Linked DNA regions of Homo sapiens: region 2 is linked to region 1. The links are contacts of gene promoters, found by promoter capture Hi-C in human tissues and cell types (Jung and others, 2019). All regions are on one chromosome and are shown on one strand. Each heading gives the region's core, a stretch centred on a gene start or on the middle of the fragment in contact. The rest is flanking DNA. Distances are from core to core; before and after follow the strand shown. Region 1 holds the start of STARD5 (StAR related lipid transfer domain containing 5). Region 2 overlaps CFAP161 (cilia and flagella associated protein 161).

Region 1 (5,387 bases), core at 903-3,402:
TGCATAATTTCTCAAAAATCTGTTGGATGCATGTAAGCAAAAAGCGTGAAGACCCTCATACCAGAGGGTAACTGGGGTCATGCAGGTACGTGGAGCTGCTACTGGCCCAGGCTTCAGGGAAGTGGGTGCCAGGGGCTGAGGATCCTGTGTTGCCTAGTGCAGCAGCCCCACACAAGGAACAGGTATGCTCCCCGCAGAGACTCTGTTTGGGGCTTCTCTCCCTCTCTGAGTCATGAGGTTTCCCACCGGGAAACTGGGCTGAGGCAGGCCTCCAATGCTGCAAGCAGTGGGCAGCCTGTGCTTGCAGGACACACCCCCTTAACAAAAGGTATCACGGACCCCTTCCAGAAGAAATGGGAGGGGGTTACTATAGCCTGGCCCAGACACTATCTAGAGATAACATGCTTGGAAAGACTTACGTCAGTGATGCTTTGGATAATTTCAAAACCGGTCACATTCTCATCCCACTTCACTCGTAGGCCTCCAACAGCTGGCTTCACACAGTCCCACACCTCCTCTAGTGTCCCATATACAATGCCTTCTCCTCGGTACCTGGAGCACGAAAAGGAATTTGACCCCAACGCATCAATCAAACTTGTTATCTTGAGATTGTATCTAAGGACTAGAAGGTGGACCATGCCATGTCTGTCACTACTCTTTAGGACAGACTTGCAGAGAAGGGGCTGAAAGTCACTAGCCCCGCCTCCCTTCAGGCCTGCAGAAATGGACAGTAAGCTTTCACAAGAATACAGTTTGCTGGAAATGATTTCATTAAAAACAGTAAGGCTTTTCTGGAGGACAAGTGATCACAGGTTATAGGGTTGATTTGAATATTTTAGGAGGCAGGCCCATAAAGATACCAGGAAGGGTGCGGCACCTCTGGTAATCTTTGAACGAGGCATGCACTTACAGGTTCCCTGGAAACTCCACAGATGGCCTCCAGGAAACTGAAACTCCATTCTGTCAAAAGGCACAGAACCACAGAATTTTAGAGCTAGAAGGGCTCTGGTCACCTGGCTTAATCCCCTGTTCTACAGAAGAGGGGTAAGAGGCCTCAAGAGATACGACTCTCCAAGGCTGTGCAACCCATACGTGGAAAAGCTGGGACTAGTCTTGGGCAAAGCTGTCCCCACAGCAGAATGTGATGAAGAAAAAGATCTTAACTGGCTGACTCCAAGAGCCGTGGGTGGTTTTTAAAATTATCTTAAAAGCCACCAGGCATTCTGTTTCCTTGAGCAACCCAGGGCTACTTAATGAAAAGTCAGAAGGGTCAAGCAAAACTACTCCCATGCTACCCTCTGGCAACGACAAAGAGAGGGGTTCATGCTGTAATGAAAAGTCAGAAGGGTCAAGCAAAACTACTCCCATGCTACCCTCTGGCAACGACAAAGAGAGGGGTTCATGCTGTAATGAAAAGTCAGAAGGGTCAAGCAAAACTACTCCCATGTTACCCTCTGGCAACGACAAAGAGAGGGGTTCATGCTGTAATGAAAAGTCAGAAGGGTCAAGCAAAACTACTCCCATGCTACCCTCTGGCAACGACAAAGAGAGGGGTTCATGCTGTAATGAACACAGAAGAAAACCTTAGTATGCATCAGATGCTGGATCAGACTTTACTGGATTTAAACAACATGTAAAAACCTCCTTAGCTGCGACCACATTCTTTCATTTTGTTTTGTTTTTAAACACCTGCTTACCCCTTAAATGCAATTTATTTACTTTTACCACTGTCACAGAAACATCCAGTCCTAAACAGCATTCAACAGCCAGGTGACCTTGGGCAAGTCACTGAGTGAAAGGAACAGATACTTACCACCTGAAGTCATTGTGAGCATAACAGGCCCAATCTTTTTTTTAAAGAAGAAAACAATCCCCATTGGAATCCCTCTCAATCGGGTCCAGGGGATTGGGGAGCAGAAAACAACGGGGAGAGGAGGCGCTTGGGGGCTTCTGGGGACCCGGGCTCCACGAAGCCGTCTCCGCGACCCCTTCCCGCCCAGCTCCTCACTCACGCCTTCCCGGCAAATCTTCCAGCCTGCTGTGTCCCGCCGGTACTGGAGCATCTTCTCGGCCACAGCCTCGCTCATCTGGGCTGCCAGCGCCGGGTCCATTGCGTCGGGAGCTGCGCTTAGCTGCGGGGTCGCGGGTGTTATGAGCGGCGGCGCTGGATCCCGGGTGCCTGGAGGCTGGAGCTCTGGGAGGAGCTCGTAGCCCCGCCTCTTTCCGCGCCCCCGCTCCCGAATTGGTCCAGGCCCTCAGACGGATCCCGCCTCCCGGAGATTGGCAGGACAAGGAGACCGCGGGGCCAGGCTCTCCAGTTAGCGTCAGCGCCTGGGCGGGTCCCGGACGCCTTGGGCGGGCCGGGTAAGGTCCAGCCGTATCCGCCTCCTTCATGTCCCGCTGTGGGAGGGGCTCTGGAGCGCCGGGACTGTGAGATGGCCAATGACGGTCTGACCCGTTGGGCCGGGCCAGGTCGCGGACAACGTCGACCGTTTGTTTAAGAAGCGTGGACTCTTGTCCTGAGTGCACCGAGGCTTTCAGCCTGCGGGACAGTGGTGCGATTTGCATTAGAGGTAATATGCTAGGGCGGCTGCTGCAGGGTGGGAGAGGAAATGCGCGTGGAGACTGGGCGCGTGCAATGGTGGGAGAGGTGTGTGGCAGGGGTGCGGGGAGTGGGGGTGAAGAGAAGAGGACCCATCGTAGAGTGTTTAGGAGATGGAAGGTGAAGGTCTCTGCCCCCGATTGTGGATGTTCAGAAGGAGAAAGCATCATGACTCCCAGCCTTGGCCACCTGGCAGCTTACCTGAGATGGAGAAGAGATAGGGTGAGTTCAGTTCTGGGCATATTTAGTTGGAGGTGCCTGAAGGGCCTTTAGTGCAGGTGTCCAGGAGTCAATGCAATGCGCTGACATCTGCGAGAGGCCCGGCTTTATTAGAGATATGGGAGTTCTCTGCTTCCAGCTGCCCTGGAGCTGCGGGGAGTGAGCCAGGGTCGCATCTTCACAGCGTGAATGGCAAGGACAGCCTCGGTTTCCCCTCTTCTGCGCTATCACCAACTAAATATTTGAAAAGGTTAATACTGAGGTCTATTTCTTATCTTTCTTTTTTATGTACTTATTGTTTCCTTTAAACTTTCGATATAAATGTTTGGAAGAGTAGTGTAAACAAATTGACAACTTGAAAGACCTTTTTGGAAGATGTGAAGGGCAGCCAGGCTGTGAAGAAGACCTGGATGGGGAATTAGGGAGCTCAAGATCTAAACCCAGTTTCACTCATTATTCTTTGAGCTTCAGTTTACTCCAAGGTGAAATGGGATACATCATAAATGTTCCTGGCGGGGTCCGGTGGCTCACGCCTGTAATCCCAGCACTTTGGGAGGCTGAGGCAGGAGATCACTTGAACCTAGGAGTTCGAGACCAGCCTGAGCAGCATGGCGAGACTCCGTCTCTACTAAAAATTCAAAAATTAGCCGGGCATGGTGGCGCGGGGCTGTAATCCCAGCTACTTGGGGGGGCTGAGGTGGGAGGATCGCTTCAACCCGGGAGGCAGAGGCAGCAGTGAACCGTGATCGCGCCACTGCACTCCAGCCTGGGCTGCAGAGCAAGATCCTGTCTCAAAAAGTAATAAAAATAAACAAACAAACAAATAAATGTTCCCTATGCCCTTGTGAAGAGAGAGGGAAGTAACGCATGTAAATACTCTTAGGACCCATAAAAGAAAAGACTAGTAAATTAATCCCATTAAAAAATTAAGCACATCAAAATTTCATAAAAAGTTAGATAATATGAGAAAAAAATCGGGACACACTTTAACACATAAGTTTTCTTATCGAACCAAGGGCTCATACAAATCATTAAGCAATTTTCAGACAACCCCATAAACAAAAAGAATGCATTAGACATGGAAAGATACTTTGTGGAAAAATTAATTGACATGGCTAACAAAGCTATAAAAAGATGCAGAACCTCACTCATTGTTAGGGAATTAAAAATTAAAGCAAGGAGAGGCTTTTCTTAAAACCTATTGATGGACAAACATGAAGTTTGTTTATACCCTGTGTTGGTGAGGGTATGGAGAAATAGTTGTTACACAGCGGATGAGAGTACAAATGTATGCAACCTCCTGGGAACAGAATAACAACATATATTAAAATTTTACTCTACTTGTTCTTTGATCCAGTGACTCTTCCTGCACAAAGATGCATAAAATTAATCTTGCAACTGGAAGTAACCTATTTACCAGTATATTAACCAAAGTTATAGAACATCCACTTAGTGGAATATTATGTAGCCATCAAAATAACCTAGCCCAGATGGTGGAAAGTGGGGATGGAGTAGACCCCCTGCAGGACTATAGTAGCACTATTTTGCTCCTAGGAAATGGGAACGTCTGGATATACAAAATATTTGGAGAAGCAAACTGTCCCCGAGGCCTGTGACAAACTGGAAGTAGGAGATTGGTGAGGTCAGGGCAGCCTTCAAGCAGAACACTCATTTATTTTATCACCGGAGGCCGGCACAGGGCAGAGTGAGCAGATGATTGGAACAGAGGGAAGGTGAGAGCTGCCCACACAGTGTTTGCCAGGGGCCTGGGACAGAAATCTATTTTGTAGTCTGTCTGAGGCTGCAGTTTGGAGCTGAAGGGGATGGAGGAATGACTGAGCTCTGGAGATTCCACTGATCAGAGCCCTTCCCACAAGGTCCTGAGAGGGCTCTGAGTCACCCAGTTGTCCACCAGACTTCATCAAAGTCCCAGGTGAATACAATTAATAGGTGTATATGGGAGCAGGTAGCCCAGTAGCTTCTAACTCAACACCACCACTAGACAGACTATAGAGGGGATGGGCCCAAGTGTCCACATGCTCCAGTCTTACAAGGCCCTGAATAGAGTGGAGTATCTGCTTTCCACTTAGACACTGATGAAGAATTGCATGCATATTTACTAAGTTAGCTTGGGCAGGTGCTATGTGAATCTACAAATGTAAGCACGTCGGTATGTTTATTGCTTACTCAGCAATAGCTAATCGTTACTCAGCACTTACTTCTTGCTAGCCACTATCCTAAGCACTTTACCTGTTTTGGGCCATTTAACTTAACAATACCGCAGCACCATGAGATAGAGACTACTACTCCCATTTTGCAAGTTAAGAAAGTGAAGATCATGTAGGGTATCCAAGGCCACATAGCTGGGAAGTGGCAGAGCTGTGGCAAACATACGATTTCTATTTCCAAAGGCCAAATGTTTACTCATATGCTTTGCTGTCTACTACATCCTATGAGCATATGTAGTGTTAAGTGTGAAACGTGCAAAGATAAAAGAAAACAACAACCTGCAAACCCTAAAAAGAAGGAAAACACACACACAGAGTAGCTGGAAGATACTACCTTA
Region 2 (5,311 bases), core at 1,124-3,623, 170 kb before region 1:
AAAGCAAAAAAAAAAATGTTTAGAATGCTAATAACACATTTTCTTTATCTGTTAAGGCAAATGCTAAAATTCTCATCAATCACTGTCACACAAATCGGGGACTGGCAGCCCACCGGCATCTTTTCTTAAGGTATTGTATTTCAGGGTACAACAAAATGCTGTGATTGGGGCTGGGGGCCATGAATATAAGCAAAGAAGCTCAATTGATAGTGTATGGCTGCACATACAAAAAATGTCCTTTGCTGATGAAATACCGCCACATAGAACTTCAATGGTGTGAAAAATCCTATTAGAGCCCCTTCTTTTATACAAATCCTACCCCTACAAGAGGACTTTGGTTCTAATGGGATCCTACTGGCCTAATCTTTGCCCAAATAAGGTGTAACCTCCCTGCAAACATGTCCCATTTTAGAGATTCCCTAGGGCTTTATCTAGCAATCCGCTTCTTAAGGTGCTTTCGAGATTAAATTATTAATAACAGCTTATTGAGAGTTGTTATTCAATTTCAAACCACAACTGATTCTCTCTTGCTCCAGCACCTATTTTGGAAAGGAGGCTGAGGTTGTAGCTCACACATACCTGGATTCACATAGAGTTGAGAAACCAAGGAACCACTGGATGTTGGTTACTGGGAATCCCAGGGATGCCTCGTCCTCCATGTTGGATCTGCCCAAACCACCCACAGAGGACACTCGAGCCATGGAGCAGGCCATGGGCCTTGACACGCAGTAACACGCCAGGCACGTGCATGTTTTCCCTGGTCCCGCTCTCATCAAATGTAGCTTTAAAAGAAATTAACAACCTTGGTCATGCCTCAAGCTATTTTTGAATCAGATGTGGGACTCTCTGGGCACTATATTAAAATAAAGATTACATTAAGATTATTGAATTTGTGGTGGGAGTCTAGGGCTGAAGAAAAACAGCTCTGGAGAATAATTAGTATTTGAAAGTGACAAACAATAGCCTTTTGTTGATAAACAAATTCTGAAGAACTCAGCTTCCTCTACTTATATCCTTCATTGTCTACAAGGACAGTGCGTTACTTTTTAAAGTTATGTCTATGTAATAAAGCTGTTGGACCTATACTGAATTTTTGGTACCACAGTTTCCCTCTTGAATGTACTAAAACACAAAAAACTGACAGCTCTGAGCTGTGGCCTTACCTTGGAATTAAACATTTCCACCTTTGTAAAACATCCTATTTTTGTTTCTACCTTTGGCTTTCCAGGTCAGGACCTCTACCTGATCAGTAACCTATTATTTTGTAATGATTTTTAAGCTGCAGAATCTCTACCTTGTCTTTGAAACTGGCACATTAGTTGTGGCACCCATGTGATTAGATAGTTCCTGACAAAATAAATGTATGTCCTTCCATGTATTTGTTCATCTGTTCATTCCTCATTGAGTGCCTGTGATGTGTAGGGTATTATAAAGGGATGTAGGGTTTCCAAGTCTTATAGATACAGGTAAACAGGCCGGTTCACAAATATGTATACTGAGAGGTAGAACATGGGCTGTAAATGTGTTTTAAATAGATGCAGTTTCAGTCAATGCAGACTGACCCTCTTCAAGAAGGCAAGCATTTTCCATCAAGTACTGCAGGATTTAGGGCAGTGGTTCCAGCCTTGGCTATGCGTTGCATTCACTCTGGGAACTGTAACAATTACTGATTCCTGGTCTGAGCCCAGAAATTCTGATTGAATGGTCTGGGGTACAGCCTGGGCACTGGGCTTTGTCAGTGTTCTTTAGATGGTTCCCATGTGCAGCCACAGCGAAGACCCACTGTGTTAGGAGGTGGAGGAGGAAGCAGTGGTTCCTTAGGGTGGTCAGAGGAGGCTTTCCTCAGCAAGTCTCTCTGGCTGCACATTAGAATCTCCTGAAGAATACTGAAAAGCCCGCGGCCCAGGCTGCACTCTGGACCATTCAATCAGCATTTCTAGGGTAGGACATTAAAAAAATACAGATGCTTGGGCCCACCCCAGAGCTTCTTATTTTATTTGAAGTGGAACCCAGGTATTCGTATTTTTAAAAACTCACTAATTTATTTGATTTAAATTTAATTAAAAATTTTAAAAACATTTTTAATTTTTAATTTTTGTGGGTACGTAGTAGGTGTATATATTATGCGGTACATGAGATTTTTATTTTATTTTTTTTTTTTTTGAGATGGGGTTTTGCTCTTGTTGCCCAGGGTGGAGTGCAATGGCACTATCTCCGCTCAACACAACCTCCGCCTCCTGGGTTCAAGCGATTCTTCTGCCTCAGCCTCCCGAGTAGCTGGGATTATAGGCATGCACCACCACGCCTGGCTAATTTTGTAGTTTTAGTAGAGATGAGATTTCTCCATGTTGGTCAGGCTGGTCTCGAACTCCTGACCTCAGGTAATCCACCCACCTCCCAAAGTGCTGGGATTACAGACGTGAGCCACCGCACCTAGCCATGAGATGTTTTGATACAGGCATGCAATGTGAAATAATCACATTATGGAGAATGGGGTATCTGTTCCCTCAAGCATTTATCCTGTGTGTTACAAACAATTCAATTACACTCTTTTAGTTATTTTTAAATGTACAATTAAGTTATTGACTATAGTCACCTGTTGTGCTATCAAATAGTAGGTCTTATTCATTCCTTGTAACTATTCTTTTTTGTGCCAATTAACCAACCCCACCTCCCTCTCAGGTCCCTAGTACCCTTTCCAGCCTGTGGTAACCATCCTTCTACTCTCTATGTCCATGAGTTCAATCGTTTTGATTTTTAGATCCCACAAATAAGTGAGAACATGTGATGTAAAACTTGCTAATTTATTTTAATGTGCAGTCTGGGTTGAGAACCTCTGGCTTAGCTGAGAGTTAGGTCTGCCTGTGTGTCTCCAAGGGGTGAGACCAGGTGGGTTTGGGCTTCAGCTGGGGAAAGACATTCTTTAACAGTGTGAGCCACCTGAAAGCATCTAAACCAATTTCAGTGCATTCTTGCTCCTACCGTAAGATATCCACGGAAAGCTTCAGACAACATCAGGGCTCTTGATCCTTTCCTAAGTGATCCTCCAATGGCTTCTTGACTGAACACCGAGAGGTTTCCACCAGATGGAAAGTCTTGACTATGAGTTTTCCAGGTTTTTGGCACGTTGAACAAAGAATTGAACAAAGTGCACAAACAGAGCAACACAAAATGCACAAAGTGACAAAAGAATGAAGCAACGCCATAAGCAATACAAGCACAGATTTATTTAAGTGAAAGTACACTCTATAAAGCACAAGCAGGCTTGGGCAAGAGGCTCAAGAGCCCCGATTACAATGTTTGTTAGGGTTTAAACTAAGCTAGAAGAATTTTGGTAACACCCCTTGGTGCCCTGTGGAGGGTTACACCTTATGAATAATTGGCCCACGACCAATCAGAGGCTGAAGTGGAGACTTGGCCCATGACCAATCAGAGGCGGAAGTGGAGACTGCCCGCAGCCAATTAGAGGCTGAAGTAGAAACTTGTTGTCTTGTTATCACAGGAGTGAGGTTGTGGCCTCTATGCTGCCTAATCTTGCCTAGAACCAAGGACTGGTGCCATATCAAGGGCTCAGTGTTGGTCACTGCTGCTGGTAAATTGGGCACTTGACCTGTAGCCAGGTCAGCCTTGGTGAGTGGAAGTCCATGTTGCTGAGCCCATGCCTTAACCCTTGGTTACCCTAACTCCCTATTCTGTCTCAGTTTTAGTGTAACCAGGAATTAGTGCCACCGACCAAGTTCGCACTCAGGTAATCAGTGACTGACTACAGTGACTGCTGGGGGCGTGACTGCCGCCTGGCTGACGGTGATTGTGAAGCACTTCATTTTAATGTACACAGACAGAGTTCAGAGACGTTAAAAGATGGAAAAGAGAAGTCTGTACTTCTCAGAATAGAAGAAAGACAATAAATAACTAGAAAGTGAGCACCTACATGCATCACCTCGTGTTATTTACAAATCAGTATTTCTACCTTGGGTCTGTTGTGCACCTCAAAATTATAAAGGGCTTTTATACTCATTTTCTTATTTAATTTTCACTACTCTCTGGGGTTAGACCAGGTCTTGTTCTTTGCTGTTTATCTCCATTTCCTGGGAAATATCTGTTAAGTGAATGAATGAATGAATCAACAGATGAATGGATCCGTAACTTTTACAGAGGAGCCAGGCTTAGAGATTTGTTCAGGGACACAGCTCCTAAACAGCAGAGCTGGGGCAGGACCAAGTCAGATTCTTCTATCCCTTCTTCTGGACAAGGGCCTTCTAATCTAATTTTTTTTCTAATTCTTTGTTGTGGTTGCTTTCCTGTGCATTATAAGATGTTTGCCAGCATCCCTGGCCTCTGCTCACTAGATGAAGTAGCACCCCTCCACTCATGACAACACAAAGCGTCTCTAAACATTGCTAAATGTCCCTGGGAGGGGTCTGCTATTTAAGGACCAATAGTCTAGACCTACTTCTAGCTGTTTTTTATTTGCCATTTATAAAGGATGCTGTAAAATGGGTATTTATCTCTCTCTCTCTCTCTCTCTCCTTCCTTTTCTTTCTTTCCTTTTTTTGTGTCCTATAGAGATTAGAATATGTGGTCTCTAACATGACTTCCAGATATATTAATAATCTGCTTTTAGCATCTGAGCTGGACTTTGATGGAAACTTAGAATATTGGCAGGGGGAGACTGGCTCTCCAGGATGCAGCCGCTGTATGGACCTGTGTACAGTGACTTTGGCACACAGCACCTCTGCAGCGACCTCCAGTGTGGGGCACAGAGATGCTCATTGAGATGTGAAAAGAAGAGTTTAGAACTCTGCGTATATCATTATTTTATCCTTTAAAGTGCATTAATGTGTGTGTGCTTTATACGATCCAAAATAGTTTTTATTTTTTACCTTTAAAAAAGTTTATCTTTTTATTTTTACACTTCATTGTGTAAAATTGACAAAATATTAGTTTTTTTTCTTTTTTTGAGACAAAATGTTTTTAAATGTACATGACATTTTAGCTTAATGGGCATGAGTAAAATTTATTAATAGAATTACATATAAATGTATGTGTGTAGCAAATACCCAAAAGGATTGCTTATTGGGAAGGGTGCACAATCACAAATTGTGGAGAGCATCCTGCGTGCTGTGTGCAGTCATTCATTATACAGAAAATGCCACTGAGTCACTTGCTGCAACGATGCCTGCACAGCTTTGTCCTGAGTCATGGACAATGGGCTCCTCCCAGCTCTAAGGTTCACTTTCTTTCAATTGAACAAATGTTTATGAATTGTTTGACAGTAAGGAACAAGGTAAGGACTCTGCAAATGCAAGAG

Evidence for each region. The method cuts DNA at HindIII sites, captures the fragments that hold promoters and counts their contacts. A contact is called where the count stands out against the background at its distance.
Region 2: a contact is called between a fragment that was not itself captured here and the fragment with the promoter of STARD5 in region 1, in 1 of the 25 tissues and cell types used here (lymphoblastoid cells).

What each region holds. Positions count from the first base shown.
Region 1 is chr15:81,321,989-81,327,375 of GRCh38, forward strand. STARD5 (StAR related lipid transfer domain containing 5) reads right to left here and starts at 2,153. Exons shown (of 6, transcript NM_181900.3): 1 at 2,013-2,153; 2 at 911-960; 3 at 420-552. The coding sequence starts at 2,111. TMC3-AS1 (TMC3 antisense RNA 1) reads left to right here and starts at 2,345. Exons shown (of 7, transcript NR_120365.1): 1 at 2,345-2,573. RefSeq lists a silencer at 2,645-2,694. The HindIII fragment of the contact is 12,739 bases long and covers 1-5,387 here.
Region 2 is chr15:81,147,802-81,153,112 of GRCh38, forward strand. It overlaps CFAP161 (cilia and flagella associated protein 161), which reads left to right. Exons shown (of 7, transcript NM_173528.4): 6 at 57-130; 7 at 537-1,378. The coding sequence ends at 732. Among named protein-coding and RNA genes, the nearest start is that of CFAP161, 16 kb to the left of the region's middle. The HindIII fragment of the contact is 7,252 bases long and covers 1-5,311 here.